Regions from separate parts of the Homo sapiens genome. Here region 1 is linked to region 2. The links are contacts of gene promoters, found by promoter capture Hi-C in blood cells and fetal thymus (Javierre and others, 2016). All regions are on one chromosome and are shown on one strand. Each heading gives the region's core, a stretch centred on a gene start or on the middle of the fragment in contact. The rest is flanking DNA. Distances are from core to core; before and after follow the strand shown. Region 1 overlaps LINC02137 (long intergenic non-protein coding RNA 2137). Region 2 holds the start of GINS3 (GINS complex subunit 3).

Region 1 (4,056 bases), core at 1,503-4,002, 57 kb before region 2:
CAACTTTGGACCTTTAGCCCAGAGAGGGCACCAGAGGAATCTACAAAACAAACCTGACTCACCCACCCTATCTTCCCTTAGCTTCTCCATATATTTACCCTCCCACAGCTTGCCTCCCTAGAAGCTCTAAATCCTTTCACTTTGTCTTGTCACTTCTCTAATAATTTATTGTTCTTTTGTCAAGATGCTGTATAAGCCCAAGTTCTAGCCACTCCCTTGAGTTACTCATCCCTGAGTATTTCCATGTGTATGCATGATGCACATATTGATAAACTTCTGCTTGTTTTTTTTCTTGTTAATCTGTCTTTTGTCAGCCTGGTTTACAGGACCCCAGCCAGAAAATCTAGGAGGATGGAAGGAAAAGGAATCTTTTCTTCCTCCCCTACAATACCATCTCCCATTTGGATCAGGCCTTTCTGTTTATGACACATTCTCCTGTTTTCTCTTGTCATCCTCACAGTGGCTGGTTATGATGATGAGTGCCCTTGGCTCACATTTTGGGAAACAGAGCCCAGAGAGGGAGACACCCACCCATCCACCATCCAAGATGAGGGTGGGATTCCTTCTGGGGTCTCCTGCCTCCAAGTCCAGAGTCGCCCACTCCCACCGGCTGCCCCCGTCTTGTCCTGGTGCATTATTTATGGGCCATTACCCACCTCCTGCAGGCATCCAGATGCTGCCTGCCAGAGCTGTGACCTCAGTGTCCCCTGGAGAAGATCAATGGTGCCCCCCCCCCAACCCCCTGCCAGCCCCACTCTCTGCTCTCCTCTCCAGCTGCTCCCTCTTTGGGTCTCTGCAGGCTCCTGGTGTGTGGCACAGCCTGTCCCGTCCCACCCACCAGAACCACCTTGTGAGCACAGATTCCTCTTTGCCAAGCCAGCTGACATATTCAGCAGGCTCCTGACTTGCTGAGCAAAGCAAGGGTAGTGGTGAATTCCAAGCTTTCCATGCCCTCACCCTGACATGTGCAGGGGTGGCATAGAGGGTGTGGATGGTGTGTGTGCATGTGCGTGTATGTGTGTCTTGAGAGGAGGGTGTGTGTGTGTTGTATGTGGGAGGGGTTGTTTAAGCACTCATGGTTGAACCCATTTGCATTGCCTCTTCTGGGTCTCATAACTGAAAGTGTAACCAGCAAGGGTCATTTTCTTCTTCCCTGTCACCCAGGGGGGTGGGAAGAGGTGCTTAGATCTAGAGTTAAGGTTGGGAGCAGGGCCCCTGGGAACCCTGGGATCCCACAGCTTTGGAGCTGTGTGATGTTGAGCAAATTGCTGAATCTCTCTGAGCATTATTTTCCTTCTCTTTATATCATTGAATCATGATGAAGATTAAATGAGAGTGCATAGAACGCATTCAGCACAGAGCCTGAGGGACAGCAAACACTGAAAATGAGCTTTTGACGATGCATGCGTTTGGATCACAAACTTGTGGAAGAAAGAACACCAGGAGGAGAGGAGAAGCCCAGGGTTCCACAGGCAGAATTCGTTGGGCTTTAGGCAGGAGTTTGGTCATCTTCACCTCAGTTTCCATGTCTATAAAATGGGCAATAGCTGAATTGAGCAGTTGCTTAAAGCCATGGCTAAAATTATGGAATTCTAGAAAATAAAAGTGAAAACCCCAGGTCATCGCCGAAGTTTTCCCTTCTTGAACTGAACTCTTCCCTCCCATTTCCTCAGATTTGAAGGCATTTGGCAAGTGTTAGCACATAAAGCCGAAGGACAGGCATCTTGGTTTCTCCTCCCTACTTTAAAGTCTCTGGTTGAAAGTCTCAGAATCATCTGGAGACCTTGTGACTCACAAAACCCCTGAGTCCTGACCCTGGGACCCTGGTTGGTTGGGGACAAGGGCACCAAAGCATCTGTATCCTTAATAAGTTTCCTGAGTGAGTCCAAAGCAGGTGGCCACTCTGAGAAATTAGAGACCAAGTGCTCTGTTGGGGATTGCCCAGATACCCCTGGGAAGAGTTCTAGACTTCCAGAGTCCTGTCTCCAGGCTCCTTCTCCTCCATCCTAAGACCCTGAGAATTAAAGGAACGAGCTTTCCCAGACCTTGCCATCTCTCTCTTCCTCCTATTGAGCATCGTTGATCTCCGTATTTTGATCAATTTCCAATCACCATAACTGTTCTTGGATCCAGGTCAATTGACGTTGGTTCTGCAGATGCCTCATCCTGGAGGCACAGGTAAGTGATGCTGGATCTACATCAAAGTCTTCCCCAGTCTTGGGAGCACAACTTGAAAAGTCTGCTGTTAGGGCGATGAGACAACTTAGATAACAGTGTGATTGGTGTCCAGGAAGCCACAAGCCCCAAGTGCCAGCATTTCGTCATTGCATCCTGTGCCTTGTTGGGCTAGTGGGTGCCTGGTAAATAGGAGGCAGAGGAGGAGAATAGTCTTGCAGCAATAGCTCACTGGTTTACCAGGAGCACCCCCCCACCCACACACCGCTGCCTTTTATTTTTTCTTAAGAGATTCTGGAGGCCGGCTTCATCTGCTTTAAATCTCATTGTGTGATTTCTTTCCTATAGTGAATCAGCAAGAGTCTAAGGTCTCAAGTGATTTCAGTGACCTTCACCACATTCAATGCCCTCTTAATCCAGAATCAACTGTGCCCCTTGTGAACACACACCTGCCCTTCTTCCATCTCATTCTTCATAGGAACAAGCACAATCATCATCAGCAAGCCTCAAGGGCTCACCATGGACTGCGAATCCATCTGAAAAGTTCTATATAGTTGTCACTACAATCCCATCAATTAGGAATTTAGATTATTCCCATTTTACAGATGAGAAAACCAAGGCTTGAGGAAGTTAAAACTTAACTTGCTGACAGTCTTACAGCTGGTCAGTGGTGGAGCAAAGACTCGAGCCTGGATCTCTAAGCCCACACTTTTAACCACTCTGCCGAGAGCCTTTTCATATTGGTAGAAATGCCTGGTTTCATAGGATAGCCCCTCACCCAAGCCCTCTTCTGTACACCCCTTCCCCAGGGCCGCCTTCTAGCTAGCAGTCCTGCAGCCGTTCCCATTTGCAATGAATGTACTCCATCCCTACTTCCTGGAGTTAATTATTTCAAAAAGACATTTGGAAACTCAGACCTGCTGTCTAATATGTTCCCTTTTGCTAATTCAATAATCCTGTTTTTCAAATATGAGTGTGTTTTTTCAACTTGTCATTGGACTGATTACTCAGCAGATATTATCTGATCATTGTTTTCTTCTTTGAACTCATGCTCACACAAGCCCGATGGATTTCAGAGCGGAGACCTGTGATTTATGACTGGGGTGTCTATTCACCAAGGGCAAGGCCTTGGCTCTCTGTGTGCTGAGGCTCAGCAGTCAGCCAGGACATAAGAGAGCCAGTCTGAAACCCTGAAAAATATAACCTACCAGATCATGGCAGAAAGAAGCAGCTTGAGCTCCTACTGGTGCATTTGGTTCACCAAATGCTAAGAGTGGTTATATCCAGGTGGTGGATTTTAAGGGAATTTTTAGTTTCTTCTTTATACTTATCTGTTTTATTTTCCACTGTAGTTTCCAAAGTCTGTATAATTTTAATAATAAAATAAGAATACATGTATTGTGATTAAGGCGGGCGCAGTAGCTCAAGCCTGTAATCCCAGCACTTTGGGAGGCCAAGGCAGGCAGATCGCTTGACGTCACGAGTTTGACACCAGCCTGGCCAAAATGGTGAAACCCCATCTCTACTAAAAATACAAAAAAATTAGCCTGGCATTGCGGTGGGCGCCTGTAATTCAAGCTACTCAGGAGGCTGAGGCAGGAGAATCACTTGAACCCGGGAGGCGGAGGTTACAGTGATCCCAGATCGCGCCACTGTGCTTCAGCCTGCGTGATTCTCAAAAAACAACAACAAAACCACAAAAAACAAACCAACATTTATTGTGATTAAAAATAAAGTTAATTCAATAAGATAAATATTATCCTTTAGGCAAAGCCTCAGATGAGTCTGGCTTTTATGAACTTGTTAAAGCCATTCCCAGAAGCAGACCCCTCTGAAAATGAGCAAAACTCGATGCCAAAAGAGAAAACAAGACCATGGCTA
Region 2 (4,233 bases), core at 1,239-3,738:
AAATCTCCCATGCAGAAGGATTCTAAAGATTTAATGTAGACACTCTGCACTCAAAGAAGTGGAACATAACTCCCTACTCCTTCAGTGTGACAGTGATAATGACTTCCATCCAAAGAGTACAGTATGAAAAGGTGGAGAAACCTAATGAACATTACCTCTGCCAAGGTTCAAATGAACAGTACAAAGTCCTGTTGATAGTAGGCACCCTTAATATGTGATGAAAATGGCACTTTACCTCTGTGGTCTTCCTCCCTAAAGCTGATAATCAAGTCTAATGCTGAGAAAAAAAGAATAAAAAACAAAAACAAAGAAGGCTGGGCGAGGTGGCTTACGCCTGTAATCCCAGTACTTTGGGAGGCTGAGTTGGGTGGATCACTTGAAGTCAGGAGTTCCAGACCAGCCTGGCCAACCTGGTGAAACCTCATCTCTACTAAAAATACAAAAATTGGCTGGGTGTGGTGGTGGGCGCCTGTAATCTCAGCTACTTGGGAGGCTGAGGCAGAATTGCTTGAACCCAGGAGGTGGAGGAGGCTGCAGTGAGCTGAGATTATGCCACTGCACTCTGGCCTAGATGACAGGGTAACTCCGTGTCAAAAAAACAAACAAAAAAACAAAACCAAAAACAAAACTACCCCCAAACCAAAGATTTCCAACTGAGGAACATTTTACAAAATACCTGACCACCACTCCACAAAACCGTCGAGGTCATTAGAACAAGGAGGTCTGATTAATTGTCACAACCAAGAGAAGGCTAAGGAAACATGTCTACTAAATGCAGTGTGGTATCCTAGGTGGAATCCTAGAATAGAAAAAGGGCATTAACTAAAAACTAAGGAAATATGAATTAAGTATGGGCAGCATAGCGCCATGTTTACCAGTGTGTATGGGAACGAAATCCTCATCTGCTAGGATGAAGTCAACAGATAATGTCTACATTAAAAAAAACAACCCAACAAGGTAAGTTTAAGAATATTATTTAGAAATATGAAGATGAATCTTGAAGACACCACTAAAAAAGGTACATGAGCCCTGTGGACTTGGAGGGGGAAGTGGGAAAAGGAAGGCAGGACCTGCTATTTTTTTTCTTATAAATCTTTTGGTACTATTTGACTTTTTTTTTTTTTTTTTTTGAGATGGAGTCTCACTCTGTCGCCAGGCTGGAGTGCAGTGGCACAGTCTCGGCTCACTGCAACCTCTGCCTCCTGGGTTCAAGAAATTCTCCTGCCTCAGCCTCCAGAGTAGCTGAGATTACAGGCGCCGGCCACCACACCCAGCTTTCTAGTAGAGATGGGGTTTCACCATGTTGGCCAGGATGGTCTGGATCTCTTGACCTCGTGATCCGCCCGCCTCAGCCTCCCAAAGTGCTGGGATTACAGGCGTGAGCCACCGCATCCGGCCTATTTGACTTTTAAAACGTTGGTTATGTATTACTTTGATAAAAATTAACTTGAAACAAACAGACCAAACAATAAACATCGTTCTATACAAAACTTAGGTGAAACAGGATATCCAAATTAATCATTACAAGCCATGTTCCTGGGACAATTTTATATTTGAAGCCATATGGCCTTGGGTTCCGAATCCCAGCTCACCACTAACTGAAGCCCTGGCCAAGTGACCCAGCCTTTCTGGTTGCTGAAGGATTAAAGGGAAAAGCTTACTCCCCACACCCAACCATGCTGCCACTAAGTAAGCCTCAGTAGGGCTTACTGATCCTGTCATCATTATGGAGGAATGAATTTAGCAACTTGGGGTTCCTACTTATCACATGCTCTTACAGAACCCAAAGCTGTTTTAAGGCAAACATGATCAGAACTCTAATTCTTAAGTATTCAGCTGGAGCCAATCTTTAAGCATTCAACACACGTTGCATGGGGTAGGGGGAAGACACTAATTTGGACAGTTTCAAAAAAGAAATCAATGTTGGAGGCTGCCTGGCGACCTAGGATAAATGTAGTTTCACCACAGATGGCGAACAAGAAGTCTGGAGACCACCCCGAGCGCGAAGGGACCCCCGCGGAGTTTCCGAGAAGTCGTTAGCGCCTTCGGCCCTGGCTCCTCGAAAACTACAAATCCCAAAGGGCAGCGCGCCCCGATGCGGCGTCCCAGGGCCGAGGGGCCCGCCGGGAGCTGCAGTCTTTCCGGGCAGGACCCCGCACCCAAAGGCTCACCTGTGGGACCGCGTTGTCAGTCTCGGCGCCTGCGCTCCGCTCCAGGAAGAAAGCGCCAAGGCGAGGCATGGCGGTCTCCGTGCGCACCGGCAGCTTCTCGTGGGACATCAGGATGTCGTCCAAAGAAAGAAAGTTCTCCTCAGGCCCCAGCGCACCCGACTCCACTCGGAAATAAGCCTCTGACATGGCGGCCACTTGAGCTTCTCCGCTTCCACTCGCGTGATTCGGAGGAGCCTCAGGAGTTAGGGGTGTACAAGACGGGGAAGCGGAGACTGGGCAGGATGGTTGGGGTCAGGAAAGTGGATTGAAACTCGTTTCCCGCGCCCGGGGACGCATCAGACAGGAGCAGTCAATTCGGGCGGTACCGCCCAGGCAGAAGCAATCGATCAAGTCTGCAGATTTAGAGCAGCGGGACACGGCTGGGGAGCGGTAGGTGGGGGCGCCGGAAGTTCTCTTCCCTCCGCTTGCTGCACGGTGTGGGAACGTTACGAAGAAGCTGGAACGCTCGTTGAAGCTCCTGGACCCATTTGTACTGGATTGTGTTCATGTGATCCTTAACTATTTATATGAAATTAAAAACACTTTGCAACACTTTTAGGGGTTTAAAATAAAAGCATCTTGTGCCCTTCACTCCAGGCCTAAGTCCGACCCTTTCCTACAGTTTTTTTCACTATGCAACTCCGTTAATCTTAGTATTTGAAAGAAATGTTAAACAAACAAAAACTTCCAGCACTATCCCCAGCGAGTTATTATGGTCTAGATGATGAACTAGTGTGTTGTATTTTGTTAGTATTTTGGTGGGGGTTGGACGGGGTGGGTAGAGGGGTGGAGCACTAGACTGCACATGGCTTGCTAAGGTTGTGAGTATACTTCAGGGTGTCTTAGCTCATCATCAACTGACAATCTCCTTTTGTGGCTCTGAATTTAAATCCCTAAAAATGGAAATCCAATTGGTCCAGTTTATTGATTGGTCCAGGTACGCCACAATGGTCATAGATCTCCAGCCACCCTGTAGATGGGGGTGCCTGTGTTGGGTGCGATCACTATCCAGTGACCAGGGGAAGGACCATGGTCGCATAGTACCAGGTTTGGTGGCTCTCCTCAGCCAGGGCTATGGGTGGCGGCATATTGTTGAGAGATGCACTACAGAACTTACTTCGTCTAGAGCATTTCTGGGGCTACTGGAGCCGGGAGTAAAGGGTGTGTGTGAAGGGAGGTGTGTATTAACCATGGATTTTAGTTTCTGTTTTCTGTATTTTATGATGCTTTGACATCTTGGGGCCTTGGGGACCTGGGGAGGAATTGCCCCTTTCAGAGTTAGCTAATTCCTAGAGATAGCAAACAACTTGCTTGTGAACACCCCTTTCATTTACAAACCAACCAACCCAAGCCTATATCCCCACACCATCTTTATCCATCTCACACACCAATATTTTCCCTGCCCCAAGTCACTGTAATAAACCACCCCATGGCCAAGTACCAGACAACTAAAATTCACCTCTATATCCCAGAGCTTGCCAACATTATTCAAATTATTCAATCCTAAGCTTGTTCAGACTTCCCTTCCCTGCTTCGCCCATTCCTTCCCACGGCAATAAAGGCTCTGGGCTTTCTCCTCGCTCTCTCTACCTCCTCATTGACCCTAATACTTTCTCGTGTGGCCGTAGGCACAGCCCCTTCTCTTGAGAACTATAATAAAATTTTCAAAGGCATTGGCCACTAACTCATTGATTGTCATCACCCAGTCACCTTTATAAATGAAATTCTGAGGACAATGAAAACAAGGTGCAGTGGGGTGGAAAGGAATGGCCAAACTGTGGAAAATCTTGGTACCATTCTAAGGAGTTAGGCCATTCCATAGAAAATGGGAGGAAAATGTAAGGCAAATAATAACATAAATCTGGGCTTCAGGAAGAGAATTCCAGCAGTAGATAAAGAAGAGAGAGATTAGATGCTTGGAAGCTGTTCAGTGGGCAGTATTTGGCAACCAATTGGATATAGGAAGTGAAGTATAGTGAGTAGTCAAAAGATTCAAGTTTTGAACGTGGCTGACCAGGTGGAT

The links. The method cuts DNA at HindIII sites, captures the fragments that hold promoters and counts their contacts. A CHiCAGO score of 5 or more calls a contact.
Region 1: a fragment that was not itself captured here is called in contact with the fragment with the promoter of GINS3 in region 2 in 1 of 17 cell types (endothelial precursors); the score reaches 5.2 in endothelial precursors.

Annotation. Positions count from the first base shown.
Region 1 is chr16:58,448,248-58,452,303 of GRCh38, reverse strand. The region is part of intron 2 of LINC02137 (long intergenic non-protein coding RNA 2137); the gene reads right to left. Among named protein-coding and RNA genes, the nearest start is that of LINC02137, 29 kb to the right of the region's middle. The HindIII fragment of the contact is 3,618 bases long and covers 944-4,056 here.
Region 2 is chr16:58,390,726-58,394,958 of GRCh38, reverse strand. It overlaps GINS3 (GINS complex subunit 3), which reads right to left and starts at 2,488. Exons shown (of 3, transcript NM_022770.4): 1 at 2,172-2,488. The coding sequence starts at 2,357. RefSeq lists enhancers at 1,695-2,271, 2,176-2,665, 2,272-2,849. The HindIII fragment of the contact is 2,062 bases long and covers 1,659-3,720 here.